Linked DNA regions of Homo sapiens: region 2 is linked to region 1. Evidence: promoter capture Hi-C in human tissues and cell types (Jung and others, 2019). All regions are on one chromosome and are shown on one strand. Each heading gives the region's core, a stretch centred on a gene start or on the middle of the fragment in contact. The rest is flanking DNA. Distances are from core to core; before and after follow the strand shown.

Region 1 (6,276 bases), core at 64-2,563:
CAGAAGTGCAATTAATTACTAATCTGGTTAACATCTTGTGCATCCCTTTTCTGTGGCCCCTTTGTTTAAGTCCTGTTTAAACAGATTGGCTCCATTGGATGTAATTTACATTTTTCCAGCTGTATTTGGACCTAAGAAGAGCATCTTCACTGAATTTTGCTGTTTAGATTCTTTGCAACCAGGTTTAGTTTTTCACAGATTTACTAGTCTGGAGGGTGGAGTGAAATTTTTGCTCACAATGAGTCTTAGAGGTGTCACCTCCATAAAGCGTTCTGTGAAGAGTCAGCGGCTCCCTCTGCCACTGAAGTTTAAAGATAATTCGCCTGAATCCCTTCAGCCAAATGAAGCTTTCTAATTATGGACAGAGAGGATGAAATATAGGGTCTGGAGGGATTTGAGACGGGTTTCCAGCAGTCGGCACCAATCTCCACCAGAGGTGCTAAGTGTCTGTAGCAGATAGTCACTAATATTTACAAATGTTAATTGATGACAACACGGAGGGCGATGCCCACGTTTGAGGCGACTGCATATCATTTCCGGGGATGGCTTGAGTGAGTGTCAGAGCTGTACCTTCCCGAGTCCTCTAGTTTATCTGCCTCGGTTCCTCGCTTCCAGACGAGGAAACAGGCCCAGAGAGGAAAGTGACTTGCCCAGGGTTGTCTCGCTGGTCCACAACACAGGTCTCCTGGTGGGGACCCCTTGGCTGACACGACAGCCCCAGGAGGCAGTCAAGCTGCGACTGGTACTTCCTGGTGAGAAAGACTTGAGTGGGCAGCGGGGCCCATGGAGAGCGCTGCAGCCTGGAGCAAGTCCCCCACCACTGTGATTCTGCCCCAGCCTCCAGCTTGTTTCTTTCTGATCACAACTCGGAATTACTTTATTTACATTTTCTATCAGCTGGGAGCAATCTGTCCCTCTGCTTCCCCTTTTGGTGCTGAGCACAGAGCAGACATCAATGAATAGCTGTTATCTTAAGGTGTGCAGTGACTAGGCCAAGGACATCCGGTGGTTAGAGAAGGACGCGCCTGCGATGCCAGCCTCAAGTCTTTGCCTTCCTGGAACTCTGCTCCAGGGTCGCACCTGCCCAAAGGAAGGCCTGGAGGCGGGGGCCAGGGCGATGGGGCTGGGCCAGGCGTGGAAAAAGAGGAGCTAGGAGCAGACAGGGTTGGACCAGAGGCGGGGCGGGGTGGGGAAAGGGTTGGTGGGGATCGGAGGCGGGGCTATGAATAGACCGGACTGGGCCAAAAGGAACAAGGCGAGGATTGGGCGGGGCCAGAGGGAAATAGGGGCGGGGCTAGGCGCCGGGAGCTTCCACATGCGTCCCGAGCCCGCCAGAAGCTGCTAGGCTGAGGCTGCTGTCCCGGCGGGAGCTGTGGCGCGGAGCGGCCCCTCTGCTGCGTCTGCCCTCGTTTTGTCTCACGACTCACACTCAGTGCTCCATTCCCCAAGAGTTCGCGTTCCCCGCGCGGCGGTCGAGAGGCGGCTGCCCGCGGTCCCGCGCGGGCGCGGGGCGATGGCGGCGCGGGGGTCAGGGCCCCGCGCGCTCCGCCTGCTGCTCTTGGTCCAGCTGGTCGCGGGGCGCTGCGGTCTAGCGGGCGCGGCGGGCGGCGCGCAGAGAGGTAAGCCCGGGCTGCAGAGGGGCGGGGCGGGAGCTGGCCCGGACTCCACATCGCGGTGCCCAGGAAGCCGCCAGGCGACGGCCGCCGGAAAACCTGGTTGCGAGGGGAGGTGGGTTTTTTTCTCCTGGGGGCTTGGAGTGAGGTTTCAGTTTAAATGTCCAGATTTGCTCATTTAAATGCAGAGAAAGGGCTACTTGGGTGGGTTTTCTTTGTTGTTCCACGACCTGCATCGCTGGAGACTACGAGGCTGGCTTAGCGTATACTTCCACACAACTTTTTCAGTAAAAGATGCCACTCTTGTCCAGCAGGGCTTTCCTGTCCTGGTGGCAGCCAAGCTTCCCATTTTGTTGCCCATTTACGGGATATAGAGACTCTGGGGTTCATTCTAGGGGTTGGGACTTATCTTCCACCTCCTGCCCGCCGCCTCTTCCTCCATCCCTGTCCCCTACCCACCGCAGCATTTGAAAACCTTTCCTTTCGCCGGAGATGAAAGGTGTGTGTTGTAGCAGGCTAGGCGGCCAACTTCCCTGGCTTCGGGGCTAATCGTTTGCATCCAGAGTTCCTCACTAGCTCCTTAGAGCACAGCTTTTTTCAGCCTGCTGTTTTTCAAGAGGTTTTGGACAGGAATGGAAACAACAAAAGAAATCGCGTAGTCCTACATGTTTCAAGTGCTTGGGAAAGTTTTAGAGTCAGTTCTCTCAATACCTTGAAGAAAAACACGTTTGTGGAGCAGCTATGGTGTGATCTAAACGTAGAAAAGCTAAGCATCCGTTAAGCAAGATATGATTACAGAAGTTCACTACGTCTGTATTTCAGGTTTTATGAGTGAGTTTCTTAAATAGTGGAAATATTGCAAGAACCTTTTCTTGCCTTTCCTTTGTTAAGGTTTTTAATCTATGGCTCCTGATTTTAGGAAGTAATAAGACTAGAATAATTCATTGCAGGATGTATTGCTTAGTGTAGACCGAAGAGAAATAAGATGGAGGGTGATTTAAACAAATGAAGAAAATCCTGGGCAGAGAGAGTTAAACAGAAAGAAAGGAATGTGATTTTGGAGCCAGGCAAACCTGTATTCAAATTATGGCTCTGGTGCATCCTGACTGGACGAACTTCTCTCAGCTGTTTTCCTTCTTTAAGAAATGGCGGGCCGGGCGCGGTGGCTCACGCCTGTAATCCCAGCACTTTGGGAGGCCGAGGCGGGCAGATCACGAGGTCAGGAGATCGAGACCATCCTGGCTAACACAGTGAAACCCCGTCTCTACTAAAAATACAAAAAAATTAGCCGGGCGTGGTGGTGCGCGCCTGTAGTCCCAGCTACTCGGGAGGCTGAGGCAGGAGAATGACGTGAACCCGAGAGGCGGAGGTTACAGTGAGCCGAGATCGCGCCACTGCACTCCAGCCTGGGCAACACAGCGAGACTCCGTCTCAAAAAAAAAAAAAAAGAAAAGAAAAGAAATGGGGGTAATAATCATGCTTACCTCTCAGAGTTCTTTTGAGGATTAAATAATGCATATAAAATGCCAGGCACAGTGCCTGACACTCGAGAAAATGGTAGTTCTCTACCCCTTTTGATGAAACTGAACTTTAAAAATCTGTTTCATGTCTTTTAATATAGAACACTGTAGCCAAGCATTAAATAGTGTAAATAGCTATCTCCCTTCATGCATGGTGTTCAGTGTTATAACAAAGTGAAATCGATTAGTTCCTGCTTTCTGCCCCACTTAGTTAATATCTCTCTCATAATAACCATCTGGTTCTATTGCACTTCTGTTTCCTCCTGCTTCCACGTAAGCTCCTTAAGAACTGTGATTCTTGTTTATCTTTGTATCGCCAACACCTGCCTTAATGTAGGAGCCCAGTGAAGGTTTGCGGAAGGAAGGAGTGGAACAGTATTACCTCTCTGGATATTAGTTTCTCCATCTGGATGGTGAGGGGCCATTAAAGGATCCCCCTTCCACCTTGAAAATTATAAGATTCTGTGTGCTCTTAGAAGTGATCATCTTGAAGAACAAAGTGATACTGAATGGATGATGTAATTGCACACTTGCTCTTAACTGTTAATATGCATTTGTGTACAACTGTCGTTCCATGTGGGTGGCTGAAAGTACTGTCTGGAAATAGGAGACCTGCCACTCGCTGTCTGTGTTTCCTTGGACGTATTACTTGACCTTGCTGATTCTTTGTTTCTCTCTCTTTAAAATGAAAGGGCGGTAGTAGATGTTTTTAAGTCAACTTTAAGTTTTTTAAGTTCAAATATAATTACCTTTATTTTTACAATTTATTGTTTTCATATTCGTCTTAGGTTCTTAATAGTAACTTTTCCCTGTGGTTTTCTGTGAGCCAGTTCCCAGGTAAAGAGAATATCTAGTCAGCCCGCAGCTATTATTTGGCTGATGAACGGTCACAGAGCTGTGGAAAGTGGCTCAGGAGACAATTAAAGTATAATATATTAAAGTATAATGAACTAGTACATCAAGATAATACAAGCATTTTAAACTGACCTGTGATTGGGACAGTGATTATGGAAGTTAGATAGTCATTAACTACCTAACTAGTTATATTTCTTACTATTTCTTAGCTATGTGACATTTTAAAGCCAATGGTTATATTTCTTAGCTGTGTGACATTTTATTTTTTTAATTTTTTTTTTAAAATATTACTTTAAGTTCTGGGATACATGTGCAGAACCTGCAGGTTTGTTACATAGGTATACATGTGCCATGGTGGTTTGCTACACCTATCAACCTGTCATCTAGGTTTTAAGCCCCACATGCATTAGGTATTTGTCCTAATGCTCTCCCTCCCCTTGCCCCCAACCTCCCGACAGACCCTGATGTGTGATGTTCCCCTCCCTGTGTCCATGGATTCTCATTGTTCAACTCCCACTTATGAAAGAGAACATGCGGTGTTTGGTGTCTGTTCCTGTGTTAGTTTGCTGAGCATGATGGTTTCCAGCTTCATCCATGTCCCTGCAAAGGACATGAACTCATTCTTTTTTATGGCTGCACGCTATGTGACATTTTAAATGGCTGAACCTTAATTTTAATTACTATATGTAGTGGCTGAAAATGAAATAGGAAAATGAAATAATTCATAGAAAATGAGAGCTATGAAAGATTTTTTTCTTCTCATCTTTAGTCATTTTCATTAACATTTTCAGAAGCTAACAGAAATACACACATACTGACTGTCAGTTTTACTTTTGTTATATATATGTCCTTACGTAAACTTTATACACAATTTAATTTGCAATTTAAAATTATTTTGATTTCCAAGAAATACTAAATATGTGAACTAGACTGAGCAGCTGGAGGGTAGGATTTCATTTGTCTGTGTATTTCCTGATACACTGCAGATATACCTGCATTTATTAATGTAGCCTATGGATTGAACTCTGAGCTTTTTTTCAACCTATAATCTACAAATGAGATCTAGCAAGTAATTTTTTATAATTAGGATATGAAGTTTTAGTTCAGTAATTTCAGTACAGAACTTTTTCTTCTAATAGCATTATTTTTCTTAAAGCATTGGAATTAAATTATCAGATGATAGTTTAAGTTCACTATTAAATAAGCATGTCGACAATTAGAGTTGTTAAATATTGGAATTTTTTTTTTTTTTTTTTTGAGACGGAGTCTTGCACTGTTGCCCAGGTTGGAGTGCAGTGGTGCAATCTCGGCTCACTGCAAGCTCTGCCTCCCGGGTTCACGCCGTTCTCCTGCCTCAGCCTCCCAAGTAGCTGGGACTACAGGCACCCGCCACCACGCCTGGCTAATTTTTTGTATTTTTAGTAGAGACGGGGTTTCACCATGTTAGCCAGGATGGTCTCGATCTCCTGACCTCATGACCCGCCCGCCTCGGCGTCCCAAAGTGCTGGGATTACAGGTGTGAGCCACCGTGCCCGGCCTGGAATTGTTTTTGAAAGAAGTTTAGAATTTGTTTCTTTAAACATCTGTTCCACAGAACAGCATGGGTATAGTGTTTTTTTTGTTTTTGTTTTTGTTTTTTTTCTTGAGACAGAGTCTCACTCTGTCGCCCAGGCTGGAGTGCAGTGGCATGATCTTGTCTCACTGCAGCCTCTGCCTCTGGGTTCAAGTGATTCTCCTGCCTCAGCCTCCCAAGTAGCTGGGATTACAGGCATGTGCCACCATGCCTGGCTAATTTTTGTATTTTTAGTAGAGATGGGGTTTCTCCATTTTGGCCAGGCTGGTCTTGAAAACTCCTGACCTCAGGTGATCCGCCTGCCTCGGCCTCCCAAAGTGTTGGGATTACAGGCGTGAGCCACCGCGCCTGGCCTGGGTATAGTTTTATAATGACAATATGATAGAAAGGATTATTTAAAATCATCCTTTTCTGTTCTATGATGAAAAATGTTAATTTAGATGTTTTGTTCTCCTTTGAGGAAACATGATATTGTTTGTCCTACTGTTTATTTATTTATTATTTTTATTGAGGCAGAGTCTTGCTCTGTCACCTAGGCTGGAGTGCAGTGGCGTGATCTTGGCTCACTGACACCTCTGGCTCCTGGGTCCAAATGATTCTCGTGCCTCAGCCTCCCAAGTAGCTGAAATTACAGGCATGTGCCACCAATCCCGGCTATTTTTTTTTTTTTTTTTTTTTTTTTAGTAAAGACAGGGTTTCACCATGTTGGCCAGGC
Region 2 (6,176 bases), core at 1,326-3,825, 110 kb before region 1:
CCTCTAGTTCAAGCGATTCTCCTGCCTCAGCCTTCCTAGTAGCTGGAACTACAGGTGTGAGCCACTGCGTCCAACAGGGTTTCACCATGTTGGTCAGGCTGGTCTCAAACTCCTGACCTTAGGTGATCCACTCGCCTCAACCTCCCAAAGTGCTAGGATTACAGGAGTGAGCCACCACACCTGGTGGATTTTGGATTTTTGGATTAGGGATACTCAACCTGTAGTACAATTTGGTGCCACTGCTTTGAGTCCTGCTAAGGCATCAGCAGTTTAGGACCACATTTCGAAAATCACAGTATAGGGTTGGGGGACCACCTAGGGAACCTAAGTGAGAGATGATGTACTGGTGGTTGGGACTAGATTTAATGGTGATATTGATAGAAGACAAAAAGATGTAGGAGAGAGGCATTGAGGAAAATGCCTCGATGTTTTGGCATAAACATCTGGAAGGATGGTGGTGCTATTTACTGTGCTAGGGAATGGAAGATGAGGTGATGATAAGGGGAAGGGGCAGAGGGGAAATCACTGAGTTCAAGTTTAGGTACTAGTGAAGTTGGGAACATACCAGTATTAAAGTAAACATGTTCACCTCCTGAATCGGGCATGTGGTTTTGGAGCTTAGAAGACAGACTTGGACTACAGAAAATATTTTGGAATTATTAGTGTAGATGTAGTGATAATTGAAGCCATAGGAGCAGTTGTACTCCCTGGAGGAAGCAGTATAGAGTAAGAAAAAAAGTGAGTCTCAATATGAACTCTGAGGAACTCCTACATTTAGATATCAGATAAAGGAGTAGAGGTTAACAAGGAAGATAGGCCTACCTAGAAGTGTTAAGAACTATAAAGGAGGCTTGGCATGGTGACCCACACCTGTAATCTCAGCACTTTGGGAGGCTGAGGCGGGAGGATCTCTTGAGCCCAGGAGTTCGAGACCAGCCTGGGCAACATAGTGAGACCCCCATTTCAATTTTAAAAAAATGAAAAAGAACTATAAAGGATCTAAAATTTTACCTTCCTTGGAAGTTAACAAATTAGCCTGACGTAGTTTCATGTATGTTGGCAGGAGGCACCCAACTCCTGGATCAGAGACAATGGACAGTTTATTACTCACAGCAAAGCATTATCCTTATTAACAGTATTTATGTTGGTTTCCCAAGCTCTAGTTTCTATAGGGTAATGTTGAAGAAGGCCAGGTAACACCTGCACACACAGGTGTTGTGTTACTTACAGAAAAGGAACTGTGGCTTAGGAAACCCAAGTCTTTTATAATGGGTAGTAAGCATGCCTGCTCTTTGCTCCAGAGCAAGACGCTATCGTGTATTTGAAAACTATTCACTATATAGACATATCTGAAAAAATAGTCTGGAACAAAGGTAGTCATTACCTCTGTTCACAAGTCTTGAAGAAATGTGAGATGGGAGACATGGAAAATTGTCTTCCAACAATATGTTAGAAGGAAAACTGGAGGATGGTGCTGTGGAATCCAGTAGAAAGAGTGTTTCAAAAAGGAGGTAATTATTAGCTCTTTTGAATATTGCTACAAGGCTGTTGGGATTCTAGCTAGACCTGCTTCATTCGTGTTTAAGGACAGAAATAATATTGATTAGGGCTAAGGTGAGTGGAAGGTAGAAAAGTGGGCACTTTTAGAGAATTTGAAGGAAGCAGTACTTTTGTTGTCAACTGGGGCTAGGAGCTGTTTAAATGTTGATGGGAAGAAACCAGTTGAATTGCAAACCAGTTTGCAAAAAAAGGAGAGAGGAAATGATTGATGACTCTTGAGTCCTAAAATGGTTAATGGAAATAGGATGCAAAACTCCTATAGAGAAGTTATCATTTAGTAGGAGGAAGTCCGCAGCTCCCTTAACTGGTGAAAGGGTGAATCCAGAGGCAGCAAGGCTTGTGGGTATAGTAGGAGGAAGTTGAGAGGTAGGAACTGTTAGTTTCTATTTATCAGTGAGGTAGGAAACGGGGCTAGGTCCTCTAGAAGATAAATAGAGATTAAATTTTAAGGAGAGTGGATGAAGATAAGAATTAATTGATGTGGAGTGTGGGAAAATAAGCAGATCAGAGAAACATTAGGATTTCGAATAGTGAGGACCTGATTGAGGTTATAATCATGTGTTTACATTAGTGCCAGTTTCTCTGCGTTGATGTTTTAGGAATTTTTTCCTCATTCTTCCTCCTCAACATAAAACTTAAAACCACAACAAATTACCATTCATACCTGTTAGAATGGGTACTGTATAAAAGACAGACAGTGACAAATGTTGGGGAGGATATGGAGAAATGGGAAACCTCATACACTGCTAGTGGGAATGTAAAATAGTGCAGCCACTTTGGGAAACAATTTGGCAGTTTGTTAAAAAGTTAAACATAAATTTACCACGTAGCCCAGCAATATCATTCCTAAGTATCTATCCAAGAAAAATGAAAACATTTATTACACAAAGATTTTCAAATGATCTTAGCAGCATTATTCATAGCCGAAAATTGAAACCAACTTAAATGTCCTGCAGTGGGTGAATGAATAGGCAAAACTTTGGTATACAATGGAATACTATTTGGCAGTAAAAAGAAATTGACTACAGATACTTGCTACAATGTGGATGAACTGTAAAAAGCAGGCTTAGTGAAAAAAATACAGGCATAAGAAACTTTATTTTATGATTTCATTCATATGAAATGCCCAGGAAAGGCATAGAGTAGATTGGTGGTTTCTTGGGTTAGAGAGGAGGGGGAGAGGGATTAACAGTAAATAGGCATGAGAGATCTGTTGGGATGATGAAAATGTTCTAAAACTGATTTATGATGTTGATTGTACAACTTGGTAAACTTACGTTACAAAAATCGCTAAATCATACACTTGGAAAGGATGAATTATAAGATATATACAATATGCCTTAATAAACTTAGGACTTGTTTTATTATTTATTTAGAGACAGGGTCTTACTCTGTCGCCCAGGCTGGAGTGCAGTGGCATGATCACGGCTCACTGCAGCCTTGACCTCCTGGGCTCAAGGGAGCCTCCCGCTTCAGCCTCGTTAGTAGTTAGGATCACAGGTGCACACCACTGTGCCTGATGAATTTTTTATTTTCTTGTAGAGATGATCTTGTTATGTTGCCCAGGTTGTCCGAATTCCTAGGGTCAAGTGATCCTCTTACCTTGGCCTCTCAAAGTGCTGGGATTACAGGCATGAGCCACTGTGCCCAGCCAGTAAAGTTAGTTTTAAAAAAGAGAGAATAGTTCTTAAGCAGGGAGGTGATGTGGAGTGGACCAGCTGCGGGGACGGGGTGAAAAAAGAACAGGATTGGTGTTTTCTTGGGCAAATGGGGTAAAAGAACAAAGAGGAAATAAATGTAGGGTTTGGGGAAGTGAGAGATTGAACCACATTGACCCTAACTGCCTAAGTAAGGAAAGCGTGGATAGGCTGGTGCCAACGAGTAAGGAGAAAGTCCCCACAGTATTGAAGAACAGATGTGGTAAGAGTGGGGATCAGAGAGGTTCTGAAGTTTAGGAAGCTTGCAAGATGGTATAGTTGGAGCACAAGAGCGTATGTAGAGGTGAGATGGGGAGAGTAGGGAGGAAGAAAGGAAATAAATGGGCCTTCCTGAACTTTATACCTGTTTGAAAGTGGGGACGTAGAATTAATATTGTTGAAAAAGCAAACCAAGGCTGGACATAGTGTCTCCTGCCTTTAATCCCAGCACTTTGGAAGGCCAAGGCTGGAGGATTGCTCGAGGCCAGAAGTTGGGAGACCATCCTGGGCAACATAGGAAAATCCCATCTCTATTGAAAAAAAAAAGAAAAAAAGAAAAAAACCAGAGCATATGTCCATTTTTCACATCTGCTAATTTACTCTCTATTGTTGTAACTCTTCTACTGGAATATCTACCTGTAGGTTTAATTTAAGGGTTAAATGGAATAATTTATATAAAGCACCTCTGCATCTGCCCCTTAGTCCTAAATAAACAACTGCAGATGATATTGTTGGAAAAGTTGAGGAAGAAAAGATATTTGTTATCTATTACTGCATAACAAACCAAAAGCAACAGTAAAGATTTATGACAGTCACAGTTTCTGTAGGTCAGGAATTTGCAGTGGCTTAGTCGATAGTCCTGGCCCAAGGCCTCACTCACATGGCTGACAGGCTGGCGCTCCCTGATGATGGAGAGGCTTCAGTTCTTTTCCATAAGGGCCTCTCCTCAGTGCTGCTCAATAGTCTCATAATAGGCTGCTGGCTTTTCACCGAGTAATCTAAGAGAGGAAGGTTGAAGCCAAAAGACTTTTATAGCCTAGCTTTGGAAGGCTCACACTGTCATCTCTGCCATACTCTAAATAGAGTCAGACAAGCAGAACTGATTTCAATACAGATTATATGAGAGCATGACTATCAGAAGGCAAGTATTATTGGTATCATCTTGGAGATTGGCTACCACAGGGAGAAATAAGAAATTTTGTTTTTGTTTTGAGAGACAGTGGTATTTTTATTCATTTGCATCTTCCCTGGCAGTAGGTCTCTAGTCATTACTTTTACAAATTTAGACAAATTTGAGATAGTTGGTGCTTCTTCATGACAAAATGTTGAGTTAACATTTGTGGGACCAGGTGTGGTGGCTGGCTTATGCCTGTAATCCCAGTACTTTGGGAGGCCAAGGTGGGAGGATTGCTTGAGCCCAGGAGTTCGAGAACTCCCTGGGCAACATGGCGAAACCCTATTGCTACAAAAAAAAATTACGAGAATCAGCTGGGCATAGTGGTATACGCCTGTAGCTCAGCTACTCTGGAGGCTGAGGTGGGAGGATTGCCCGAGCCCAGGAGGTCAAGGGTGTAGTGAGCCATGATCGTGCCACTGCACTCTAGCTTGGGTGACAGAGCAAGTCCTTATCTCAAAAAAAAAAAAAAATACATTTGTGATTAGTGTTTTCTCGTAGCACTCTTATTTGATAATTGCTTTTTAATTTTTAAATAAGAATTTTTTAATACCCTACTTGTTAAATTATAACTAAAACAGTAGCCTTTTGCCCTGTCCCCAATTTCTACTCCCCAGAGAATACTATTTTCAATTCTCTTGACTGTTTCTTCAGGTAATTTCCTCCATGTTGTTAAATTGCCCTTCTTATACTACTCTTTCTTGATTTTCCGATTTTAGACTTTAGTAGTTTTATACTGTGAAAATGGTAATTTGGCACTTCTTCTGTATATTTATGCAACTCATAATTTTTGGTGGAATCAATGTTGAGCATTTATGTTATGACTATAAATGTTCTTAGCCAATCCTTGTAGTAATGATGATTGTATCTCATCTCTCATATAACTTTGTATTTTTCCTGGGATTAATGGATTGCCTTTTTTTGTTTGCTTAGTACTCTATGTCCTTATGAATAAATCATCTCTGAACTCTCCAAAAGAACTAAATTCCTCCTCCTGGTATAATCATGTAATCTATTGGTTATTTTTTTTTCTTCTGTTGATGACATGCTATCTGGACTTCATCTTCTGGTCCATCTGGGACTGACTGCATTGTAGCTTGCACAGCCGTTGTTGTAGAAGAGTCTGCTCTCTCTTTGTTTTGGAGACTCTCCAAGATTTAGTGGTTTTCTGTTTTTTGTTTACTCTCTGATTTTATAGAGCATGTCCTCTACTAGATTCCTAAGAAAGGATGCCTGAGAAATACATTTTTGAGACCTTGCTTGATTAATTGATAGTTTTCCTGTGTGTAAATTTCTTGGTTGGAAATTATTTTCATTTGGAATTTTGAAGGCATTTTTCCATTGTCTGCTAGCTTTTAACACTCCTCATAAGAAATCTCAGGCAATCCTGATTTCCTAAACTTTGTTTCTGCTTGCCTTTCCCCCATGTAGACATTTTAAGTTTCAGCTGTCTCTCCTCTGTTCTGCTCAGTCCATTACCAGTCATCCATCTAGTAATACTTTGTTTTTCAAAATTTTTTTGGCTTTGCCTCACCCTGTCACTTTTTTTCTAGTGGGTTTATAACTTTTATAAACAAAAAATATTCCTGAGATTGTTTTTCCATAATAATTATCTAAATAAAAGGTTAATCTTGTATATAATTTCTGTGATAATATTTTCCTTCTCATTATCTCCAAATGTTCTATTAAAAAATTTTTCCCCTGTAATTCCCCTTGGTTTGGGGAATTTTTATGTTTCTGATTGA

What was found. Contacts are between HindIII fragments. The study calls those that stand out against the background at their distance.
Region 2: a contact is called between a fragment that was not itself captured here and the fragment with the promoter of CHRNA5 in region 1, in 4 of the 25 tissues and cell types used here (heart right ventricle, lymphoblastoid cells, mesenchymal stem cells and 1 more).

The regions. Positions count from the first base shown.
Region 1 is chr15:78,564,207-78,570,482 of GRCh38, forward strand. CHRNA5 (cholinergic receptor nicotinic alpha 5 subunit) reads left to right here and starts at 1,314. Exons shown (of 6, transcript NM_000745.4): 1 at 1,314-1,619. The coding sequence starts at 1,514. RefSeq lists an enhancer at 512-701 and a silencer at 1,512-1,601. The HindIII fragment of the contact is 8,456 bases long and covers 1-6,276 here.
Region 2 is chr15:78,451,777-78,457,952 of GRCh38, forward strand. All of the region lies in intron 2 of IREB2 (iron responsive element binding protein 2), which reads left to right. Among named protein-coding and RNA genes, the nearest start is that of IREB2, 17 kb to the left of the region's middle. The HindIII fragment of the contact is 7,438 bases long and covers 1-6,176 here.